2 separate regions of the Homo sapiens genome follow, and region 1 is linked to region 2. The links are contacts of gene promoters, found by promoter capture Hi-C in blood cells and fetal thymus (Javierre and others, 2016). All regions are on one chromosome and are shown on one strand. The core of a region is centred on a gene start or on the middle of the fragment in contact, and the rest is flanking DNA. Distances in the headings are between cores, read along the strand shown.

Region 1 (5,377 bases), core at 2,807-5,306, 2.7 Mb after region 2:
AAATCTGAAGTAAATATTTGTTAAGTGAGTCAAACCAGTTCAATAAATACTTACTGAACTTATTCCATGTGCTAGGGACTGGGACTACAGAGATAAATGAGGCAGTCTTTTTCTTGTAAAACGTATATATTCATTAGGGAAAACAGACTTTACCTGAGGACTTTTGATGTGATAACAGTGCAGGCCCTGGAGGTAGATTGCCTGGGTTAGAATTCTCTCCCTGCCACTTAACCAGTTTTGTTACCATGGACAGGTTAACCCTTAGTGGCTCCATGTCTTCATGTATTAAATAAGAATAACAATAGAATCTGCCTTATAGAACTGTTATAAAGGAACAAAGAAACTTAATAAATGGAAGATGCTTCGAACAGTGCCAGAGATATAGTAAGGGTTCAGTAAATATTAACTCTAATAATTATTTTTAACCTTAAGAGATGATTTCAGTAGTGTCAGTTATGATAGAGTGGTAAACATAAGATGCTATGAGGATACAGAGAAGGAGCAGGGGAACACTTACTGCTTTTCTGGGAGGGAGGGGAGTATGTGGCATTTGGTAAGTCCTCACAGAGAAGATGGTACCAGAGCTGAGTCTTGATGAACGGATAGGGCTGTGTAGGGTGGGGAATTAATCCTGGGGAGACAAACAACATAAGAAAAGGAAGAAAGGCATTGAACAACGAGTTGCAGGGAATTGGTCTTGGAATTACAGGATTAAAAAGTAGAGGGATGTAAGGCTAGAGAAGTAGGTCATGAATGCCCTTATGTGTCACAGAGAGGACTTTGAACTTTAGCATGTAATGTAAAGACCTTAATTTTAATCAAGGAAATGGCATGGTCTGATTTGGTGATTTAGATTAAGTGGAGTATACAATTCAAGAACATAAGAACACTTTCAAATTCTGAAACAGCATGTCAGAAAGGCCAAAAGAAGATATATAACTTTAGACAGGCTCACTTTTCAGAAAAATACCTGTTATTTCATCATGAAAATTTCATCTTGAAAAAGTAAGTCTGGGTATGGTAGTATACCATATGCATGTTTATATTCTCCCTTGTGTAGAGTTATGAAGGATTTCCTTAAAGGAAAGTGGTTCATTATGGCTAAGTGAATCCTTACTGAAGGCACTAAAACATAAGCTCAGGGAAATGGAGCCAGCACCGTGTCCTATTTATCTCCATAGTCCACATAGAACTTAGTTAGTATCTTGCACTCAATAACTCCTTAACTAATCATTGCCTGATTCCAATTGTGTTAAGCTATAGAAGATTTGGCATACACATGGTCTCCAAACTGATAGGTATACATAAAAAGTACCAGGAAGTGTTCTTATAAATGTATATTGTGTTTTTGCAAAGCCAGAGATAAGATTAATATTGATTAATTTTATTTAAAGAAGGTTTGAGTAGTTGAGTAGTTTTTAAATAAATTTCTTCATTAGGTAAGCAGAAATAGCATTTTTTGTCATGAAAATAATTTTATCTGTGTTTCTTCTTCCTCCAAGGCTGCCTCAAGTATCCAGAGAGTCTTGTCAACATTAACACTAGCAGTATTTCCAACACTTTATTTTTTTAACTTCCTTTATTATACAGAAGCAGGATCTATGTTTTTTACTCTTTTTGCGTATTTGATGTGTCTTTATGGAAATCATAAAACTTCAGCCTTCCTTGGATTTTGTGGCTTCATGTTTCGGCAAACAAATATCATCTGGGCTGTCTTCTGTGCAGGAAATGTCATTGCACAAAAGTTAACGGAGGCTTGGAAAACTGAGCTACAAAAGAAGGAAGACAGACTTCCACCTATTAAAGGACCATTTGCAGAATTCAGAAAAATTCTTCAGTTTCTTTTGGCTTATTCCATGTCCTTTAAAAACTTGAGTATGCTTTTGCTTCTGACTTGGCCCTACATCCTTCTGGGATTTCTGTTTTGTGCTTTTGTAGTAGTTAATGGTGGAATTGTTATTGGCGATCGGAGTAGTCATGAAGCCTGTCTTCATTTTCCTCAACTATTCTACTTTTTTTCATTTACTCTCTTTTTTTCCTTTCCTCATCTCCTGTCTCCTAGCAAAATTAAGACTTTTCTTTCCTTAGTTTGGAAACGTAGAATTCTGTTTTTTGTGGTTACCTTAGTCTCTGTGTTTTTAGTTTGGAAATTCACTTATGCTCATAAATACTTGCTAGCAGACAATAGACATTATACTTTCTATGTGTGGAAAAGAGTTTTTCAAAGATATGAAACTGTAAAATATTTGTTAGTTCCAGCCTATATATTTGCTGGTTGGAGTATAGCTGACTCATTGAAATCAAAGTCAATTTTTTGGAATTTAATGTTTTTCATATGCTTGTTCACTGTTATAGTTCCTCAGAAACTGCTGGAATTTCGTTACTTCATTTTACCTTATGTCATTTATAGGCTTAACATACCTCTGCCTCCCACATCCAGACTCATTTGTGAACTGAGCTGCTATGCAGTTGTTAATTTCATAACTTTTTTCATCTTTCTGAACAAGACTTTTCAGTGGCCAAATAGTCAGGACATTCAAAGGTTTATGTGGTAATATCAGTGATATTTCGAACTGTGAAAATGGACTTAATAATTAGACCATTTCTACAAAGAACAACTGAATAGGTGGAAAACATGGAATTTCTTTTAGGTGCAGTGGTGGTCTTCAAATTACATTAGTTTTTTTTATATATATTTTAAACATATGTAAGAAATTAAGTGGCAAAGAACTGAGAAAGCTTAAGACCTGCTTCAAAAGCCTGAAAAATGGAAAAATAAAATTGTTTTCAGATATCTCATATCACTCTCATAATGTTGGCCCCTTAAAAAGCTTGGGAATGTTTTGTATGTACAAGTTTATTAAAACTGGGTATGCTTCATATTACTGGAATGAATTTATTCTCTTCAGAGAGAAATATTAGGTTAGTGCAAAAGTAATTGTGGTTTTTGCCATTGAAAGTAATGGCAAAACCACAATTACTTTTTTACCAACCTAATAACAATGTATTAGCAAATATTTACAAATGGTCAGGTGATATTCTTGATTGAAAAGTTGCTTAACATTTCAGTAATATAATTTTAATTCTAAGTCAAAATACAAATGCATAGATAGTAAATGATAAAGTAGAGACTCATATATGCCTGTCTAGACATCAAATTGTTGGTTATTGTTTACAATCTAGAAATGATGAAGCTCTTTCACTAATTCCTAATATGAAATGTATGATGGCCAAAGACAAATTGTATTGATTATAATCCTTTAAAAGGGGGATTTCCTTTCTGAAATACATATTGTATTAGCTTCCCAGGGCTTCCATAACAAATGACGACAAACTTGGGTGCTTACAACAATTTTCCTCACAGTCTGGAGGCCAGAAGTCTAAAATCAAAGTGTCAGCAGAGTTGGTTCCTTCTGGAGGCTCTAAGGAAGAATCCATAAACAGACATTCTATGTCTGTTTCCTAATATCTTGTGGCTGTGTGCAATTCTTGGAGTTCTTTGGCTTCTGGACAAATCTTGTCCAAGTATTGCAGACAGCAATCTTCACTCCAGTCTCTGCCTCTGTGTTCACACGGCCTTTCCCTCTGTCTTCTCTTCATTACCTTTTAAGGACAGTGTCTTTGAATGTAGGGCCCACCCTGATCTAGGGTGATTGTGTCTGGAGACCCTTAATTATGTTTACAAAGACCCATGTTCCAAGTAAGTTTGTATTCACATGATCTGAGTAGACATTGTCTCTTCGTGGGATACTTTTCAGTCCATGACAGTTACTAAAGGACATTTTAGGATAGTCTTCATATGATTGTTAGGAGACTACCTTTTTAGATTTTTTTTATTATATATCAAATTATAGTTGTATATACTTATGAGAAACAAAGTGGCATTATGATTTTTGAATATAATGTGGGATTAAATAAAGCTAATCTATCCATCACCTCAAATATTTGACATATTTTGTGATGAAAACATTTGAAATTTACTCTCAGCAGTATTGAAATGTACAGTGCTTAATTATTAGCTGTATTCACCATGTTGTGTAATAGATCTAAAAAAAGTCAAACATGCTCCTTCTATCTAATTGAGGCTTTGTATCTTTTGATTATCATCTCCCCATTCCCACATCCCCGGCCTCTAGCAACCATCATTCTTCTCTCTACTTCTGTGAGTTTAATTGTTTTAGATTACACAAATAAGTGAGATCATGTGGTATTTGTCTTTCTGTGCTTGGCTTATTTCACTTACCATAATGTCCTCCAGGTTCATCCATATTGTTGCAAATGACACAATTTCTACCTTTTTAAAGGCCAAATAGTATTTTATTGTGTATATATGCCACATTTTCTTTATCCATGCATCCATTGATGGACATTTAGGTTGATTGAATAACTTGATAATTGTGACTTGTCTGCAGTGAACGTGGAGTGCAGACTTCTCTTTGACATACGGATTTCAAGTCTTCTGGATAAATGCCCAGAAGTGGGATTGTTGGATCAGGAGATAATATCTTAGCCGATACCTTTTAAATAACTCTCAGTATCTTTACTGAGAGGTTAAAAAGTAAGTGACTTCTGAGGTAATATAAAGCTAAAGGTGACTAGTGTTTGATTCCATTATCTATTTAAAAAAATGTCAGAATTGAAAGTTAAGAAATCATTTGGTCTGACCTTATTTTGTAGATTAGGGAACAACTGCTGGGGTAGGATTATTTTGTGTTACTTTTTGAATTTTGTGTTTATTATTTTGAGTGTATTTTTTGGGTTGTCATTCCATTATAGGAAAGTATTATTTGGGCATGTTAAATTTGACATGTAAACTTAGAATTATGAATAGAACACTTCTTTTAACATAATTTTATGTTTCCAAACTTTAAAAGTAGCTATAAGTGAACAAATTACTTTCCCCTCAATGTCAAATTTTGTTTCTCTGAGTTTTAAGTAATGATTCTACATTTACAAATATAAAATTGTGTGTAGGTGAAAATCACAAGTATAATTTGAATGATAAATACAGACCGTTTTTTGGTTGTACTCTAGTACTCAGAAAATAGAGTTGCATTAGTTATAACAGTGATTGTAGAAAAACGTGTTTTACCCAGACTTTTTAAAAATTAGACGAGAGAGGACACTCAGAGAAATTATACTTTTGTCATTAATTTACTATAATAGAGAACTAAATCCGAGAAGTCAAAATTGAAAAAAGAATGTATAATTTAGGGAAAATAACTTTTTGTCTGATAATATTAATGCAAGGATTTTGTATTTAGGAATACTTCTGAGAGGAGAAGCTTCCACTCTGATCTAGTCTGGCAAAATTGAGGAAAATATTCTACCCTGTAATTAAAGAAGACTGCTCTTTGGAGGGATCACTGTTCTAGAT
Region 2 (4,756 bases), core at 2,237-4,736:
GGGGGAAGGAAATTAGACTAGTGTGGGGAGAAATGAGAAATGAGAGCTACTTCAACTCAGCACAGTTAACATTTACCAAATTAAAATAACAGTAAGCCAAACCAAACTTATAATAGGTGGAAAACAACTAAATACAAAGCTAGAAATAAATTCTTTTAGTTCAACTGTAACTTTCATACTTGAATATGTAACAGCGGTGTACCTGTGACATTAGTATTTCTGAGGCAAAGAGAAAACCTCCCTACCTTGAAAACAAACTCCCTTTTTGGACTAGATGACATTTCCAGATTATTTCCATAATACAGAAAAATCCTAGTTGCAGATTCAATAAAAAACTGGAGAAACAAAAGACAACAAAAAAGTCTCAATTTATAACACCCCAAAATCAAAACTTAAGTGTGGGAAATACAAGACAATCTTGTGGACAAGAGAAATCAGGAAGAAAGAAAAATGACATTTTCCAGGTTTCCGCAGGACTTTCTGATGTAAAATGGTTGAATCAGAATTGAAAAGACAACCAAGAGTCAAGGGCAGTGTCTTCCCAGAACTGCTTTCTTAAGGTAAGGGAGGGGACCAAAGACACTCATTCTTTCCACTAAAAATTTACTTAATGTTTCCCCAGAAACGATAACTGACACAGGCCTCAGTTTTATCTTCTGTAAAATGTCTACTTCCCAGTGTTGTGAGGACAACACAGCTAATATTTATCAATCATGTCACTGGCTTAATTACAACTTATTTAAAATAGGTATTACTACCATTTTACAGATGAAAAAAACTGGATCACAAAGTGACTATAAGATGATGACAGCTTTGAAACCCAAGCATTACTAACCCAGAAACCTCTGAACAGCAAAACTTCGTGCCTCAATACATGTGTTCCTTTTCTGCTCAACCAATTATATTCCTACCATCTCTTAAGAAAAAACGAAAATGACATACTTTTAAAGCAACCTACTATGTGCCTGGCATGGTAAATTGATTAATTTATCCTCATAAGAGCCCTGTATAGTTGGTTTAGATTTAAAAGTTTATGCTTTCCCCAGTGAAAAACTTTTATTTTACATGTAAAATGGTTCTTAAATTGCTTCTCTGACATAAATATGTCTGAGTTTGAGCCCTATGAGTCAGGATTTCCCAGGACTTGATAACCACTCTGGGGGAAAAAAAAAAAAATTGACCATTCAGGTTCCAGATATACAGAATTAAGAATACTGTGCAAGGACAGACAGACTTGGGGCCTGCTGTCCACCAGTGATCTAGAATATTCTACCAATTGAACTTCGTATCTCCAACCTCCCACAAAAGCAATACAAAGAGAAGGCAGTAGAGACCTTGTCTGTGGGTCTTTCCCACCCTGAATTCATTCACATTGATAATCCAAATCTCTGTTTTACATCATCTAATTAGTAAAACAAAAACCATTAAGCTCTGTATGTAGTATATGAAATCTGCTAGGAAATGGAAATTCTAGCCATAACTTAGCTATGAAATACTAATTAAGAAAAACAACTCAAACAATCTCAGCGTATTTGCAAAGCACCTCATATGCATTTTAAATACAGGACCCAGAGAAATAGCTGCGAAAGGAAAGCCAAAGTTATTAAATCCAAAGTTTTTCATTTTCTTGACATGCTCTTTCTATTTAATACAGAAATGTACTAATATAGGTTGCCTTTTGGTATTGTAATTTGGTCAACCAAAACTTGGGAAAAATAGGTCCAAAGTTTTTCATTTTCCTGACATGCTCTTTCTATTTACTACAGAAATGTACTAATATAGGTTGCCTTTTGGTATTGTAATTTGGTCAACCAAAACTTGGGAAAAATAGGTTTATTAATAACAAAATAATGAAAAAAAATGGATTTCAACTAGTATCGATTTTTAGGTGTGTGGGGGCAGGGGCATTCAAGGGTATTATTTCCTAGTAATGATCACTTAGATTCTAGGCCTTACACATGATTCAAATGCAGGAGAAATCAGGAAAGAAGCAACAGATATGGTGGTGGGTATCGGATGTCTAGACTACAGGCAAACCCCAAATACCAAAGAAGCATCCATGTGTCAAACCAGCATAATTTTTGAGCTATGCCTGGGGCCACATACAAAAAAAGAAAAGGTTAGCTTGAAAAGAAAAATCTAGGAGAGGTAACCAGAAGGTCAACCACAGTTCACGGGATCTGGGAAGAAGCTAGCCGTTACCCTGTGTCATCTTCCTGAGCAGCTTCCTCCCCAGCCAGCTCCCCAGCCTCCTTACAATGTTTCCAAAAGGCCCAACTCCCTAAACATTTGCTTCTTCAAGGTCATCCTAAGGCACTGAATAACCACCAAACACTGAGTCACGCATACCTTTCGCCTAAAAAAGATCCCCCTTCCCAAAATCATTATATAAATACTTTAAATGCCATGAGGGTTTTCTCCGAAACTCCACCAGAAACAAACTCCCAGACTTTTAGATTGGGCAACTAAATGTGTTCAATTTTGCGACATAAAATTTTAAAAGGCTTTTCAAGTCTGGCAAATTCCAGTTCAAAAACAGGTGCTTTCAGCGTACTCTGAATAACAAGGTCAAATTCATTTTTAAATTATTAAAAGAAAAAGAAAAGCTTTTCTTAACCCTCCTTAGGACAACTTAAGAAGGGGGAGAAAGAATTGCTGGGGTAAAACTGTCTCGGATAGGGTCCCTGTTTAACTCAAGAGTAAATCCTAATCTTCCGAGTGCCTGAAGTAATGGAAGGTTACAGGAAGAAAATAAAAACAAAGAAACTGACTAGGGTCATAGTTACCAGAACAAACTGCACCGCCCTACCACCTCAAGAAACCAACTCCCCCTACACCAAAACAAACCTTGCCCTTCCCCGCTCCCCCCACCCCCTAGAAACACACAAAGAAACTGGCCGCACGCACAATTCGCCCACAGTCCTCACTTCCCTTAGTAGGGCAACAGGGAGCCCCGGAACTTCCCCACGGTGGTTTATCGGGCGTCGTCGGGGCTGGGTCCCCTGGACTTGCGGGCCACAGCTCGGCTGGGGAGGAGGTGCTCGCCGCCCTCACCCGTTTCTCTGAAAGCAGTAAAATGCCTCCCCGCTCCTCCCAGGGCCCTCGGGTCCCCACCTTCCGTAAATCGTGCTTCCCCCTCGGGCACTCCGGTGACTGCCGAGAGAGACGCCGAGCCAGCAAGTAAGAATGCTCCCTGGTGGATTTGTTGGTAAATAAGACATCTCGCGTCGGGAGGAAAGTTCCTGCGGGGGCCGCTCGCCGGGGCGAGGGCGAGGGCAGCGGGAGGTGAACCGCGTCGCTCGCCGCCACCTCCCTCACCTGCGCCGGAACAACGGGCCCCGCGCCAGCCCGGCCCGGCGCCTCCCGCAGGCCGCGCCTCCCGCACGCCGCGCTGCCGGGGCTTGTTCCTCCTCATGGCTTTGCCCTGACGTAATTCAAACATGGCAACAGTTCGACTTCAAAGGCGAACCCACAGACCTCCCAGACACAGGCTCCCGGGCCACGAGAAACCGGCCGAGCAGTCCGGGCCAAGCTCCCCGGAACCCTCGGCCGTCGCAACCCCCGACGCCAGGGCTGAAGCGCCGGGCACTGCCGCCTCCCTCGGTCGCCCGCCCGCACGCCCGGAGCGGGGAAGCACGCCGCCTCCCTACGCACCAGCATGGCACCTCGCACAAGTAGCGCCGCCAAAGTTTCCCCACGAGGGGGCTGAGGGACAAAAGCCCCTCCCGAAACTCGCCCGAACTTCGAGGGCCTCCGACCTGCACGGCCCTACGCCCAGGCGGCGGCCCCGAGCGCCGGGGGCCCGCACGGGCACATGCAGCCCTTTGTTTTCTGTCCAGCCGGGCGCTGCCTACGTGCAGCATCAGGGATGTCGGAGCGTTTCGCAGGGGCCGGACACTGGACGATCACCCTGGGTAGGGGTCCGGACCCCGCGCCCCGAAGAGTCCGGAGCCTGGCCCCCCGACCCTCCCCTCGGGAGCAGGCCCATTTAATCAAAGTTTTGCAGTGTCCTTGATGAGAAACGCCCGGAGTATCCGCCCCGCACGGGCGGAGAGTTGGCGACTTTCACTCTGCTTTTTAAACTGGCAAGACGCCATCATCAGCAAACCACATTGTCCTGCCGGCCGGACCTGCCCGACGGCGGCCGCATCCCACGGCTCACGCGGGGCTGGACATTCGGACAAGGACCAGGGTCGCAGCCCGAAGCACGTGGTCTGTCACGTAGAGCACAAAAAGCAGTGCCCTGCGGAGTTCACTGACTCCCGCGGCGTACACAACGCCGCCGCCTCCATCTCCAGCCAAGTTGGCTTCCCTGGCCATCTTACAGCGCGGACGGCCGCCCATAAACGGGAAGCCCTCGCGGTGTCGCCCACACCTACGCTACAGGTGAACGCACCGGGAGCAAAACTTCGGGCTCCGAAAGCACCCCGGACACCAGAGGCTCTTGGGCGCGGTCCGAAGAGGGCAGGCGAGTGGAAGACGGGCTGTTTTTAAGCGACCGCGTGTTGCTCTCATTGTCGCATCCGCATCCCTCCGGAGTTGAGCAAACAACGCCACGCCGCGTGCGCTCCGGCAGAGCCCAGCACTGACCCCCAAAGGCCGATTTAAAGACCCTCGGCCGCCAGCTCGGAAGCGGATGGCAACTTAGTTTCCGAGCGAATGGCGTTTATTGTCCACCCTAGTCCGAGGGCTGCAGTCAACTAAACCACGAGGTTTCACAACGGCGCCCGACCCTGCCCGCGCCTCGCGCCCACGC

The links. Contacts are between HindIII fragments. The CHiCAGO score rates a contact against its expected background, and 5 or more counts as called.
Region 1: a contact is called between a fragment that was not itself captured here and the fragment with the promoter of FLJ13224 in region 2, in 4 of 17 cell types (activated CD4 T cells, non-activated CD4 T cells, total CD4 T cells and 1 more). The highest score is 10.4, in activated CD4 T cells.

The regions. Positions count from the first base shown.
Region 1 is chr12:34,024,361-34,029,737 of GRCh38, forward strand. It overlaps ALG10 (ALG10 alpha-1,2-glucosyltransferase), which reads left to right. Exons shown (of 3, transcript NM_032834.4): 3 at 1,503-3,942. The coding sequence ends at 2,555. Among named protein-coding and RNA genes, the nearest start is that of ALG10, 4.6 kb to the left of the region's middle. The HindIII fragment of the contact is 2,454 bases long and covers 2,830-5,283 here.
Region 2 is chr12:31,320,830-31,325,585 of GRCh38, forward strand. It overlaps FLJ13224 (a long non-coding RNA gene), which reads left to right and starts at 3,487. Exons shown (of 1, transcript NR_026806.1): 1 at 3,487-4,756. All of the region lies in intron 1 of SINHCAF (SIN3-HDAC complex associated factor), which reads right to left. RefSeq lists an enhancer at 4,410-4,756. The HindIII fragment of the contact is 3,270 bases long and covers 2,605-4,756 here.